Regions from separate parts of the Homo sapiens genome. Here region 1 is linked to region 2. The links are contacts of gene promoters, found by promoter capture Hi-C in blood cells and fetal thymus (Javierre and others, 2016). All regions are on one chromosome and are shown on one strand. Each heading gives the region's core, a stretch centred on a gene start or on the middle of the fragment in contact. The rest is flanking DNA. Distances are from core to core; before and after follow the strand shown.

The links. The method cuts DNA at HindIII sites, captures the fragments that hold promoters and counts their contacts. A CHiCAGO score of 5 or more calls a contact.
Region 1: a fragment that was not itself captured here is called in contact with the fragment with the promoter of DENND4B in region 2 in 3 of 17 cell types (M0 macrophages, total B cells and M1 macrophages); the score reaches 9.2 in M0 macrophages.

What each region holds. Positions count from the first base shown.
Region 1 is chr1:154,175,024-154,182,080 of GRCh38, forward strand. TPM3 (tropomyosin 3) reads right to left here. Exons shown (of 10, transcript NM_152263.4): 3 at 1,092-1,225. Among named protein-coding and RNA genes, the nearest start is that of TPM3, 14 kb to the right of the region's middle. RefSeq lists an enhancer at 5,170-6,166. The HindIII fragment of the contact is 2,735 bases long and covers 658-3,392 here.
Region 2 is chr1:153,943,772-153,950,725 of GRCh38, forward strand. DENND4B (DENN domain containing 4B) reads right to left here and starts at 2,947. Exons shown (of 28, transcript NM_014856.3): 1 at 2,530-2,947; 2 at 287-626. The coding sequence starts at 603. CRTC2 (CREB regulated transcription coactivator 2) reads right to left here. Exons shown (of 14, transcript NM_181715.3): 12 at 5,344-5,613; 13 at 4,687-4,873; 14 at 3,904-4,558. The coding sequence ends at 4,338. RefSeq lists enhancers at 1,199-1,298, 1,619-1,668, 2,137-2,637, 3,449-3,518 and a silencer at 2,159-3,058. The HindIII fragment of the contact is 4,483 bases long and covers 1,154-5,636 here.

The DNA.
Region 1 (7,057 bases), core at 775-3,274, 230 kb after region 2:
GGAACACATTAAAATTAGCTGGGGAAGGCCGGGCGCAGTGGCTCACGCCTGTAATCCCAGCACACTGGGAGGCCGAGGCGGGAGGATCACAAAGGCAGGAGATCAAGACCATCCTGGCTAATACGGTGAAACCCTGTCTCTACTAAAAATACAAAAAATTAGCCGGGCGTGGTGGCGGACACCTGTAGTCCCAGCTACTTGGGAGGCTGAGGCAGGAGAATGGCGTGAACCCGGGAGGCGGAGCTTGCAGTGAGCCCAGATTGCGCCACTGCACTCCAGCCTGGGCTATAGAGCGAGACTCTGTCTCAAAAAAAAAAAAAAAAAAAAAATTAGCTGGAGAACTTTAAAAACATCAATGCCCAGACCCCTCTTGCAACTGATTCTAATGGAACTGGGATGAGATCTAAGCATCCAGTTTTAAATTCCCCAGTGATTTCCCCCCTCACCCCTACCTATGATTCTAATAATGCAACCAGCGTTGAGAAGGCTTACTAAAAACAGATTGCCAGGCCCCACATCCAAAGTTTCTGATTCAGCAGATCAGCATAGGAGCTGAGAATGTGAATTTTTACCAAGTTCCCAAGTATTGCTGATGCTGCTGGTCTGAGACCTTACTTAGAGAACCTCTGTTTTAGAGAAATTAATCTCACAAATAGAAGCTTATGATCCAGAAAGTAGAAGTCATACTGGTGATCCCATTTTAAGGATCATTAGGCCAATTTGTAAGGAAATACCAATTACAAAAGGGTCACAACATCTAAGTTACCCTTACTGTCTTCAAGGGGACAGAATATGCAGAATAGAAAGGAGATCCTGTGTGATGGAGTTAGTATTTTATTTTTATTGACTGATTGACACAGGGTCTTTCTCTGTCACCCAGGAGTGCAGTGGCGCAATCAGAGCTCACTGTAGCCCCAACTTCCTGGGCTTGAGCCACCCTCCTGCCTCAGCGTCCCAAAGTGCTGGGATTACAGGCGTGAGCCATCACACGCAGCCAGAATTGCTATTTAGAAAACAGGTCTATAAGGAAATCTTGATCAGAACTATTATGAACTTTTAAAATCCACACTCCATCAGGCTTCCCTACACACCTCTCACTCTCATCAGCAGCTTTTTCAGCTTCTTCCAGCTTTTGCAGGGCAGTGGCCAGGCGCTCCTGAGCACGGTCCAGCTCTTCTTCAACCAGCTGGATCCTACGGTTCAAGGAGGCCACCTCAGCCTCAGCCTGCATTTGAAGGAAAGAATGGACAAGGGAAGCAGAGGCATGGAGAAAAGAAGAAATAACTATGACATTAAGATCAGGGTTGACTACCATGAAAAAGCCAGAGTCTCGCAGGGTAGAACTTGTCTTAGCTCAGCTGTTAAAAGATCTAGCAGACATAACTTTATATATATATATTTCCTCCCTTTCCCATCAACGAACTCCCATATGTTCCACAGGAAGAGTGTTTTAAAACTCAGTTCCTTGCCCAGCCCAGTGAGTTAGTACCACCCACTTCCTGGACTCAGTTCAAATTCCTCAACACACTGGAGTCAGAAAAGAAAGTCAATGAAGGGTTCCTTCTGCCTGAGCTCTGGCTTGGAGGCATGTCTCATCCTCAGTAACCTTTCAAGTGTCTCATAAAGCAGGAAAAAAAAAAAAAAAAAAGCAAGGTTTCTTAAAGAGGGTATCCTGACTGGGTGTGGTGGCTCATGCCTGTAATCCCAGTATTCTGGGAGGCTGGGGCGGGTGGATCATGAGGTCAGGAATTTGAGACCAGCCTGGCCAATATGGTGAAACCCTGACTCTAATAAAAAATACAAAAATTAGCCAGGTGTGGTGGCGCGTACCTCTAGTCCCAGCTACTCGGGAGGCTGAGGCAGAAGAATCCCTTGAACCCGGGAGGCAGAGGTTGTACTGAGCTGAGATTGCGCCACTACACTCCAGCCTGGGCAACACGGTGAAACTCCATTTCAAAAAAAAAAAAAAAAAAAGAGGGAATCCTGGATTACCTATTAATTGCTGCTTAACTCAAACCGTTATTCCTATGATCACTTTACCCTAACACATCAGAAGAATAACTAGCCAAGGGAATGTCTTCCAGAATAGCCTTCCAGACTGGAAAGCAAAAGAATGGAATATTGTTGGGATGCCTACTCACCAGCCCTTCAACTTGTGCCCCCGTACTCCTTTTTTAAGTTGGCTACAAGGAGCTGCTTCTGGCTAAAATTATCTGCTTTGATAGCTTTACAAAAAAGAAAGAACATTTCCACCACACCCACTACCATTCCTCCAAATTTCTGAATTTTCTCCTTTCTATTCCTCCAGCCATCCCCTTAGCTTCACCCTCTAATACAGCGACAATCTTCCCCCTGGCCTCCATCTCACAATGAAGTATATAGGTTAGAGTCCAAGTAAACCCATCCTGGATGGGTTTTCTCTAAGAAACAAGGAAAGAAGGAGGCAGCCTGCAGGTGGATGGATAAATTCTAATGGTAGGAAAACCTCTTTCCATGACTGCCTCCCCGCTACCTTTACTGGTGGGAGGTACCCTGACTGCAACAGTATACAAGAATTTAATATGCCCCGCACACCACCCAGTTCAGATGCTTATCCAAGTGCCTGGTAAACACGATCTCTCTTCTATAGCCCAGATTGTGCCTGAATTCTATTACCCTGATTTCTTCCTGGCAGGCAGGAGTTGGTGCAGCTATAGAAACAGCCTGGGCCACTAGCTCCGATGAGGAAGAATATAGACCAAAAGACTCCTTTTTAACCATCAGGACTGGCACAAAAACTTCCACATACAAACATGAGAAGCTGAAGAGACTAGGAAGGGAAGCAGAGGGCTGGGGCTACAATCTAGCCACCAGGCAAAGAAAATCGAGAAGTCAACATAAGCTGAAATCATTAAGAAACCATTTGTGCCTCTAACTACACTACTCAAAACACCACAAAGACAAGTATTCTCTGCTTCTGCCTCTTCCAGAAAAATAGATGTTCTCTGTAACAACACACATTTCTCCTCACAAACCCAACAAGGCCATGGATCAAGAGCAAGTCAGGCTATCAGGCAAGACCTAGGAGACACTGCTAGTAAAATGACTTACCCCCCTCAGACGAAAAATACAACTAGATTTAGAGGAAGCTCATGAAATGTAAGACATCATGCAGCTCACCAGTAGTTACCCAAACTGGAGTAGAAGATAACAGGCTATGGGGCGGGGGTGTACAGTTGCCATGACAGCAAGCTGGCTCAGGCAGTTTCTCCCACAAATCAGCATTTACAATAGAATTCTTAGCAAGGCTGAAAAGGGAGAGGGGGAAAACACATCTTGGTGCCCTCCTAAGAGCATGCACACATGAACAAGCCTGTATCAAAAGCAGAACCTGAGATGGGAGTCCTAGAAAAAGCTTCAGAGACCCCCTCCAGGGTGGAGTGGTAGGGAATGGGACCTTGCCTTTCTCTTTTCTCCTAGCACAGAGGATCAGTTCTCTTTACAATGAAACAAAAGCCTGCAGAATCAAGATCTGATACTTTGTTTAAAGGAACAAGGAAGACAAGCTGACTTTTCCCTCATGAGTCTATGCACAGTGCCTGTCCCTTTCAGGTCAAATAATACCAATGGGTACCAAGAGATTGAACAGGCCTACTTTTTGCAGACCAGGCTACCTGTGGCCCTGGGAAACGTTAAGCTCTGCACTTTCCTAATCATCTTAGGTTTTAGCATGCCCATCCAGATGCGGTTTTGGTGTTTCAGCTGACCTATCTCTGCCCAGTGTGGAGGATATACAGTACTCTGTGGTTCTTCCCTTCAAGTAATAATAGGATTCTCCACTGCCCAGGAAGCAAAGATCCTGGGTGAGGGATTGGGGAAAGAGTAGAATGCCCCAGCAACTCAGTCACATTACCAGATGGCTGACAACACCTTCGGCTATCCTCCACTCCAAAGAGATTTCCCAAATATGTCAACCCCTCCAGGCAAGAAACTGACAGTGTGATGGTACTCTCAGGCAGAACAGGGCCAAGGACAGAAGGGGATTAGCCTAAATCTGGCTTTCTGCCACACTGGGGTTTCTCTTATTAGATAAAAGCCACAGATAAAATTCAAATGAAAGAGTATCAGAAAGTTAGGCTTGAGCCCTGTGAGTAAAGGACTATTTGAGTTCACTGTGCTCACAAATGCATTACCCAGGGAGATACCGTGTCCTTGGGGAATTTAAACTTCACCAAAGGGGAGGCAAGTTGGAAGGGAGTAGAGCTATCTGCCCCACAGTAAACAAAGGCGGAGCCTAAGCAGGGGTAAAGGGCTATCTGCCTCTCCCCTGTGAGTGTGTGTTCTAGTACTGGGGAAAGAGAAAGGAAAGCAAAGCAACCAAAGAAAGGTTGCTTAGTCCACCAGGCCCACGAATAGAAGAGAACCACACAACAGTCAAGCATTCTAACCTCTCCAGAGACTAGGAATTTAGGATTAAGGCCAGAATCAAAGCCCACTCCCTCGGTAGTACTCTTAAGGTTTTTGTTATTACTTTTTTTTTTCTTTTTGAGGCAGAGGTAGTGTGCTGACCTTACACTCCCGCAGTTGACCCCTCACTCCCCCAGTGCCGATACTCGCCCAGGCTGGAGTACAGTGGCATGATCCAATCCTGGTTCACTGCCACCTCCGCCTCCAGGGTTGAAGCAATTCTTGTGCCTCAGCCTCCCAAGTAGCTGGGATTACAGGCATGCGCCACCATGCCCAGCTAATTTTTTGTATTTTTAGTAGAGATGGGGTTTCATCAGATCCACAGGTGGACCTCAGATCCACCCGCCTAGGCCTCCCAAAGGGCTGGGATTACAGGTGTGAGCCACCGCACCCAGCCTCTTAAGTTTTTTAGACTAGAAAAAAATTAAAAAGAGAAAAATATCAGGGACAATTAGGAGAGAGTTATTAAAAACAGATAAGGTGAACTGTACATTTATAAATGGTTAAAATGGTAAATTTTACATGTATTTTTATCACCACTACCACAAAAAAAAAGAGATAAGGAAAAAGACTGCATTTAAACATTATGTTGCCATCTGTTTCCATTTAGACAGAAGTAAAAAGGAAATACAGAACTGAAAGTAAATTTGACAAGGTGCTACATTATAAAAGACCAATTTCCAGGCCGAGAGCAGAAAAGAAAGATGGATCCTAGAACACCAGTGTCTCAGTTTTAGACTCATCTAGCTTCCCAACAAGGGTGGCTTGGATGTTCACACAAAGTAACCAGGAAAATAATTAAGTGACAATCCCACTAACAGCATGAGATACCATCAGAGAGTGCAGTTTCCCGCTCCAGAGGAGGGAGGAGTCTGCAAAACCCACATTCCAGAATGCCTTAAGAGGATAACAGGTAGCCCAAGCAACCCCCCTCCCTTCCCACAGGTGTCTCCTCCTCAGTAGGGGTTCAAAGTTCAGCAGAGCAGCAGAAAGTCAAAAGATTAAGCTTCTTCAGGCTGGGGAGTAGAAGAAATGATTTCATCAATATTTAACTATAACTCTACTTCCCCATTCTGAGGACTTCCTCACTAGACCTCAGCTCAATAAGCAAATTTGGCAGGCTCTGAGTGAAAGTAGCTTAAGAAACATCACCCCAGGACAGGCGCAGTGGCTCATGCCTGTAATCTCAGCACTTTGGGAGGCTGAGGCAGGCAGATCACTTGAGGTCAGGAGTTTGAAACCAGCCTGGCCAACATGGTGAAACCCCATCTCTACTAAAAATAAAAAAATAAAATAATAAAAAAAAATCGCCGAGTGTGGTGGTGGATGCCTGTAATCCCAGCCACTCAGGAGGCTAAGGCAGGAGAATCACTTGAGCCTGGGAGGTGGAGGTTGCAGTGAGCAGAGATCGTGCAACTGCATTCCAGGCTGGGCTACAGAGCAAGTCTCCATCTAAAAAAAAAAAGAGGGGGGATGGGAGGCAGGAATCACCCACCTTAGAACTACTCCTAGAATGTCCATATTTAAATACTGAGCCTAAGATTCTGCAGCTCAACACATGGCCAGTTCCTCTGTCTTCCCCTTTAAAGCTATCTGGTCTCCAGAACAAAGGAGATGAGAAAGTGCCACTGGCCATAAAGAGTCACCCAGCCAGTCCATCTCACTTGCACAGATAATAAGAAGTTGTTGGCAAACTGAACAGAGGAAAAAAATCTACCTAGAAAAAGGTGTCTGAGGAAGACAACAAGCTCCCATCCCAGCATCTCCATGACCACTTATAAAAATAAGTGAGTATTCCAACAATCTTTAAGTATTTAAACTGGAGGGCAGCTGTCCCCCAATTACCATCCTTTTCTGAAATCCACCCCTCCCCCTCCCAAAAACATTCTCAGTTATTTCCCAGAGGAGCAGCCAAAAAGAAAAACAAAAACAAAAACTTACCAAGGGAAAGAACAAAGAACAAAGAATAAACCACATGAGTACTTTCACTGGATCTTGAATTTTAGCAACAGTTACTTTACTCTCTCAAGATCCTCCAAAACAAAGCCTCAACTCGTATCAGCTCCATCTATTAGACTGCACCCTAGACCTTGGAAAATCTTATGGCTTACACTAAAACTAATCAGCCACTTTTAAACAGAAAGACGTTTAAAGAAATCACTAGAATAGGCTGGGCACGGTGGATCACACCTGTAATCCCAGCACTTTGGGAGGCAGAGGTGGGTGGATCACCTGAGGTCAGGAGTTCGAGACCAGCCTGGCCAACATGGCGAAACCCCGTCTCTACCAAAAATACAAAAAATTAGCCAGACTTGGTGGCGGGCACCTGTAATCCCAGCTACTCAGGAGGCTGAGGCAGGAGAATCACTTGAACCCGGGAGGCGGAGGTTGCAATGAGCCGAGATCATGCCATTGCACTCCAGCCTGAGCGACAGAGTGAGACTCTGTCTCAAAAAAAAGAAAGGAAGAAAGAAATCACTAGAATCACTGTTCACTCCACCAACATTTTATGTTTCCACTTTCAGTTGAACAAATATTCCACTAGAGTCACCTGGAATTCATTATTGTCTCCACCAAATTGCCCAAGTCAATCAGAAACCTTGAGACTGGC
Region 2 (6,954 bases), core at 1,697-4,196:
ATCCTATGAGGATGAATTATTTTCCCCATTTGACAGATGAGGAAAACAGGCCCAGAGGAGCTCAAAAACCTGCCTAAGCTCTCAGAGCTAGCAAGGAGCAGCACTAGCACATGAAATCGCATCTGTAAGGACTAAGTACATACAACTTCAGTCCTTCCTTCCTGGCCCCTGGCCCACCAGGCTCCCATCCCCATTGCCCTTCCCTTGTTCCATAGTCCTACCTCTCCCTGTCTCACTGGAGTCCCTCCCAGCCTCCCCTGGTGCCAGCATGGGTAGGGGCACACACCCCAGCTCAACGAGGGGGGGCTTGTCACGGCCCCTGCGGTAGCAGATGACGGGTTGAGTTCCACCCAGAAGTCCAGCACTGAGTTCCAAGGGGTGGCCCCCAGCAGAAGCCTGGATGCATGTGTAGCCCTGGGGCACTTCCTCGCCCAGTGCCCTAGCGATGACTGCCACATCTGTGATGGGCTCAGCTGGCCGGGGAGGGCGCAGGGGCCCACTGGGTTCAGGAACCCACGTTTCCTCAGGGATGGGTGCTCCGTTCCCTGCAAGCCCAGCTACCACGAAGTAATCCACCAGCCGGGGGGGCCGCTCCTCCGCCATGGCCCCCCCCTCACTCACTGCATCTGGAATGGTCAAGTGGGAGAGAGATGAAGCAAGGAAGGCTGGGGATGCCATGGCAACCAGGGTACCCTCTTGCTCCCCTCCTCTTCCTAGTCCTTCCAAAGAAAGGCAGGATAAGGGGTCGGCCAATCCTGAACTCTTCCCCCTGTGACATCACTGCCCACCACAGCTTCTTAAAGAGACCAGATCCCTCCCACTTAATGGTCCTGGCACTCCCCTCAAAGAACCTAAACTCCACCACACACAGCTAACCTGAGCTATGACATTCACATTGTCCATGTGTCCCTTTTAAAGGCTCACCAGTTATAACATCACAGAGATCACAATCTTTTTTGTAATAGCCTTCCATGACATCATTCATGCTGGCCATGACATCATACCAACCTTACAGTCTTTTCAAGGGTTTCTGACCTTCCTACTCTAGTTATGACACCATAAGAACCTTGTGATCCTGCCAATGTTCTTAAAGAGCCCACTCCTAGGTTTTTAAGAGGACCCCATGGGTTTCTGAGAAAGCCCACAAAACCCAAGCTTTAAGAGTCTTTTCAACGAACCCAAGTGTCCTTTCTCCTAGCTTAACTCCACCAATCTGGCCCAAAATCCAGTGTTCTCACACCTCCAGGATCCTTAGGTAGCTCGTTAGATCCAAAGCAGTTGTGAGAGACAAGTCCCGGCCATCCCACACCCTCCACCATGGAGCCCAGAGACAGAAACAGGCCCACAACAGCCTAGTTCTCACCTGCCTCCATGGCCCAACCCCGGGGAGTAGGAGCCCCAAGGGTCCTGAGGCGCCCCAGGGTGCAGAAGCTGGGAAAAAGCCTGGTGGGTAGCTCGCAGCAGGGGCCCAGAAGCGTGGGGGGTGCTTCAGAGGGGAAGGGAGGTTACTTCCTGAAACAGTGGAGGGGAAGCTGCAACTCAGAGGAAGTCAGCCTATGGGTGTGTGTGGTGGCGGTGGCGGTGGTGGGGTTACCATTGAAGGTGCCAGCACAGCATTACGCCAAGTTGGAATCTCAGACTATAGGATCCTGAGCAAGGCAGAGGAGGCTCAGAATGGTTCCAGGATGTGCAGTCCTGCTAACCTCCTGCTGTTCCCCCAGAGAACAGGGAATAAGGAATCTCATAGAGCCAGGCTGGCTTTCTTCATCACCTGGCCTCTGGACACACACACACACACACACACGCACACACACACGCACACACGTACACACACCAACCCCAGCTAAATTTAGACTCCACTTCTGGGAGGTAAAGCCAGGAGTCAGCGTCAGCCTCTTGATTTAATTCTGGGGCACAGACCTGTCCCTCATCCACTGAGGGCGAATGGGAGCCCTATGCCCAAGGCAGCAGGCAGAGGCCATTAGGTGGGACCTTCTGAGGGGCAAGTGGGTGGCACCCATCCGCAGGACCTGCGCACCGGGGCCTCCCCTCACCAAGCCAGGGAAGAGTCCTGCAGAAAGCAGCCCTTTCTCCCTAGGGAAGACAACGGGCACAGGGCCCACTCCGGGTCCCCACGCCCGCGTGCCGGGTGACGGGAAGTTCGGGTTGGGGCAGAGGGCGCGCCGAGGGGGAGGAGGCTGAGGAAGGAGCAGGAGGGCAGAGAAGCAGGCGCGCCGGCGGCCGAGGACGTGACGGCAGCAGCGCCGGCCGCCGCGTGACCCAAGCGGGAGGGAGGGCGGCTCCGACTCCGGCACCCACGGGAGCAGAAGGGGGTGCAGGAGGCCGGGCACGGCGAGCTAATTGCGGGAGGTGCCCTCCCCTCCACTTTCACTTCCCCAGGAGAGAGGAACCGGAACCAGATGTGCAGTGAGGGACAGCAGCTGGGGGCCATCCCCCACCCCGCCTGCCGCCCGCGCTCCCTCCTGCCCGTCCCCGCCTGCCGCCCAGCCCGGTCCAGCCCCTACCTGCCTGTCCCGCGCTTCCCGGCCGGCCGGCCCGCTGGCGGGTGGCTCGGAGGGCGAGCTGGCGGGCCGGCGGGCGGCGGGGCTACCCGGCCCCAGACATGGCGCACCCGACTTGGGCGCCGCTCCCGCCCGGGCAGTGAGTGAAGGAAGAAGAGGCGGCCGAGGACCGCAGAGCGCGGGGCGCAGTGGAAGGAGATCCGGGCGGTCCCCGCGTCCCCGCCGCGCTGCGCCACGCGGGGACTGTGCTGCCGCGCTGCTCGCTCGGCCGGCTCGGTCCTCCCAGCTCCCGCGGCGCCGGGGACCCAGCGTTCCTCCGCGCGCCCCGCTTTCTCTACTCCCCCAACCCCCGCTCCGGGCCGCGGGCGCCGCCGCTACCCCCACCCCTCCTCCTCGGCCGGCGGCCGTGACCCTGGCAAGCGTCTGCCCAAAGCCCAGCCGCCTGCAGCCCGACCCCTGGCGGCTGGGAGGGCCCCCTGCACCCAGGTAGCTTCCCACCATCCAGCCCGTGCCTCAGGACACTGACCCCAGGCGACCCAGAGGGCCGCGGCGCGCTCCCTTCCCGCCTGGGTCCTGCAGTCAGATGTGGCAAGCATGATGTGGGCGCAGGTGAAGTCCCGAAGGTCTAGTCTACGGGGACCCAGGTGGCTCCCCCTACTTCCAGGTTTAGGGCACAGGGCATTCCCTTTGGACCAGAACCAGAAGCTCTCAGTTCTCTTTTTTGAAAATGACAAGAGCTTTGGAAAGAGGAAGAGAGGCCAGGACTGCAGGGTGTGGAATAGAGCAGTGGAGGTGGGGGTAAGGTAACTGCGGGGCTCTACTTTTCTCACTATGCGGGTTGGGGGAGTGAGGGGTGCAGAGGCCCACACGGCTGGTCCAAGGGCTGGCAACCCAATCCAGAAAGAGAAAACCTTCAGAACATGCATGGCACTGAAGGATCTGTTTAATTAAAACTAAAATGAATGAGTGGTGAAGAGTGGAGAGGGTGAAGTGAATGCATGCATAGTGAGGGAGTGAGGATGAAGGCTTGCTTCCCTGAGACCTAGGAGCACTTCAGACCTGTGGGCTCAGCCAGCAATCACCTCCTTACCCGACTCACTGCCAGACCTAGGGTTGAGGAAGAGGAATAACTTGTCTGATCAGTCAAAGCCCCCATCTGATGCTGCAGCAGGGCCCTGGACAGACAGGAGGGCACATGAAGTGATTTCCTGCTGCCGTGGAAGCCTACATCCAGCTGGGTACAAATTCCGAGGCTGTGGGGCCCTTCCACAAAGCACAGTGGTGCTAAGAAGATGCAAAAAGCCTAATAGATAAAAAGACCCATGGCCCTATAACTCCCTAGATCCCCAGCCATGCCCCAAATAACTAACCACACCAAGGGTTTGATATGATTTTTTTATTAACATATAATAATATATTTAATAAAAAATAGTATCCACTCTGGCTCTCTCCTCCACTGCAAGGGGAAGAGTGGTGAGGAGGGGCTGGCACTGCCCACCCCTAGGCATCCGGAAAAGCCCTGCTTCCAGGGCTCCCCTCTACCCCTGCTTTCCAACAGGCTCTGACCTCCAGACAGACGGTTCAAAGTTACAAGTGCTTTAGGCCCTCCCTTGAGTTCCCCCAGGCCCATCCCTTGCGCAGAATTCAGGGGCCACCTGGACAAACCCCTTGCTTTTTCTCATTCTTGGCATCCTTCATTCATGCTAGAAAGAGGATCTGGGGACAGAGAGTAGAGTCTCTACCTGCCAGGGGGAAGGGAGGAAAGGAATGGTGGTGGGGGATGGGGCCAAGAAGAGGGATGGTGATGAGGTGCCCTCATTGGAGCCGGTCACTGCGGAATGACTCCTCCACAGCAGGATCAGGCAGCAGGGCACAGGGGTCACTCAGCATGTTTAGCCCTTCCAGGCCCAGTGGCTCCATGCGCAGCTCATCTTCTAGCCCAAGCCCTAGCTCCAATCCAGCTGCTGACACCTCAAAGCCAGGCACTCCGGCCAGGGCTGCTGCAATCTCCTTAGAGAAACCTGGAGAGGAGTCCCCTGTGGGTAGAAGAGACAGGTGAGGACCCCATGTCCTGTAAACTTTTCCAAGACCCCTCAATCTCCTACTCATTAGTGAATGTGTCACTTCCTCCTTCCATTTCCCATCACCACCCACCCCCATTCACCTGTGAGGATGATGTTAGGCCCTGAGCCATGGCGGGAACAGTGGGTCAAGTTCTGGTGGTTGAAGGTGTGGGGATCCTGGGGGCCACCCATTGGCCCCTCACCCCCTAAAAATCCAGGCCCTTCAGAAAAGCCAGGGGGATCCAGCACCAGGCTGGCTGATGGGCTCTCCATGCTGAACTGCTCCAGCTATAGACATACAGACAAATCTTTAGGAAGTAGGATTTAGAACTGGTGTCCTGCCTAGCCCTGCTAACATATCCCCTTTGCCCAGCAACCTTCATCCACCCCAGGAACAGAGGCAATGACAGAGGGAGGTGGCAGCAAGCAGAGCGACAGAAGCGAGCACGGGGCCCGAAGTAAGTATGGGCACCGTACCTGCTGGGCCAGAGCATGTGCATGCCAGGAAGAGAACGGGTCAAGGCAGAAGTCATCAAAGAGCAAGCTGAGCAGAAATAGAGGGGCAGGAGTAGGGTCAAACGCAGGAAGAGAGGAGCCCCAAGCTGGCAGTGCTATGTTACCTCCGGGGAGAGGAGATCTCCCCACCACCCACCCCACCTAGATCTCCCCATTCACAGTGCACCAGCCATGCCATTCAGGCCCCATTGACCCACCCTCACCCACTCCCCTGCTTTTGAGCAAGGAGCCTGAGTACTCACATTCCCCAGGTTGAAGTCACTCATTGGCCGGTGGTAAGACTGTTGCCCATGCCCACTGGGCCCAGGTGGGTACGGTGTCCCATAATGAGACTGCCTGCCTGGGGGCTGCCCACCTGAGGACTGCACTGAACAAGACTGAGAGGGCAGCCCTGGCTGCTGTAGAGACTTTGGGGTGTGGGGCTGGGTAGGCAGAACCAGACTTGGGGAGCTGTATGGGTATGGGGGTAACCGCTGGTCAGTGGACAGTTTACTGGTATCCAGGGGGACGCCCTGAAAAGAAGTAAAAAGAGGGAAGCTTACTGCTCAGTGTATACCCCAAGAACTCTCAGTCAGAGCTTCCCACCTTCTTTAGCTACAACCATTCCCAAAACAAACATGACAACATTCCACATTCTCACGGGCATCCCTGGGGTTGAGTGCAGTTACTCAACCCCAGGGATGTGTATTAGTTGGCAGGGTGTGGTGGCTCATGCCTGTAATCCCAGCACTTTGGGAGGCCCAAGGCAGGTGGATCACCTGAGGTCAGGAGTTCGAGACCAGCCTGGCCAACATGGTGAAACCCCGTCTCTACTAAAAATATAAAAATTAGCTGGGCATGGTAGCAGGCGTCTGTAGTCCCAGCTATTCGGGTGGCTGAGACAGGAGAATTGCTTGAACCCAGGAAGTGGGAGGTTGCAGTGAGCCAAGATCACACCACTGCACTTCAGCCTGGGCAACAGAGCGAGACTCCGTCTCCAAAAAAAAAAAAGTGCCTATCAGAATGAAAGTGATATAGTGAGGCTAACACAGGGGTAATTTTAAATCTACTCCAGAAGTAAACTATTCTCTTTTTTTGAGACAGGGCCTCACTCTGTTGCCCAGGCTGGAGTACAGTGGTGCAATCATAGTTGGAACTGTAGCATCAACCTTCCTGGTTCAAGTGATCCTCCCATCTCAGCCTCCCCAGTAGCCAGGACTACAAGCGTGCGCGACTGCACCTGGGTAATTTTTTATTTGTTGTAGAGACTGGGTCTCACCATATTGACCAGGCTAGTTTTGAACTCCCGCCTTGGCCTCCCAAAGTGCTGGGATTACAGGCATAAGCCACTGTGCCTAGCCTTAGAAGTAAACCATTCTTAAATCTTGATACTTGAACTATTTATTGTTAGTAAATAAGGAACTAAGGTTGAGAACTGCTGTTCTACAGCCTTGAAGAGGCCAGAGGGGGTGGGAAAAGAAAGAAAGAAAAGGAGAAAGAAAGGAAGGGAAGTCAAGCTCACTCCACACTCTGGGAACAGAGCCCTTGCTAATCTGGCCTCAGTCTTTCCTACAAAAGAGGGGACCTGAGTAAAGATGGAACACAGAACACACATTCCAGGGATAGCAATGGAGGAGGAAAAGTTGGGCAGAGGAGAGGGAAAAGAGCATTTGGATGAAAGAAAAGAGGAGTAGAGATAGAGAACAAGAAGAAAAGGACAGGAAGGGAGACAAGGGCTAAGAATTTCATCTCTGTGGAAAAAGCCCTAAACTAAGAGCTTCGAGTTCTAGTCTCAACTCTTCCTAACTTGCTGGGTAAACTTGGAAAAGTCACTTTCCCTCTAGGTCCCACTTTCCTCATCTATTAAGTGAAGG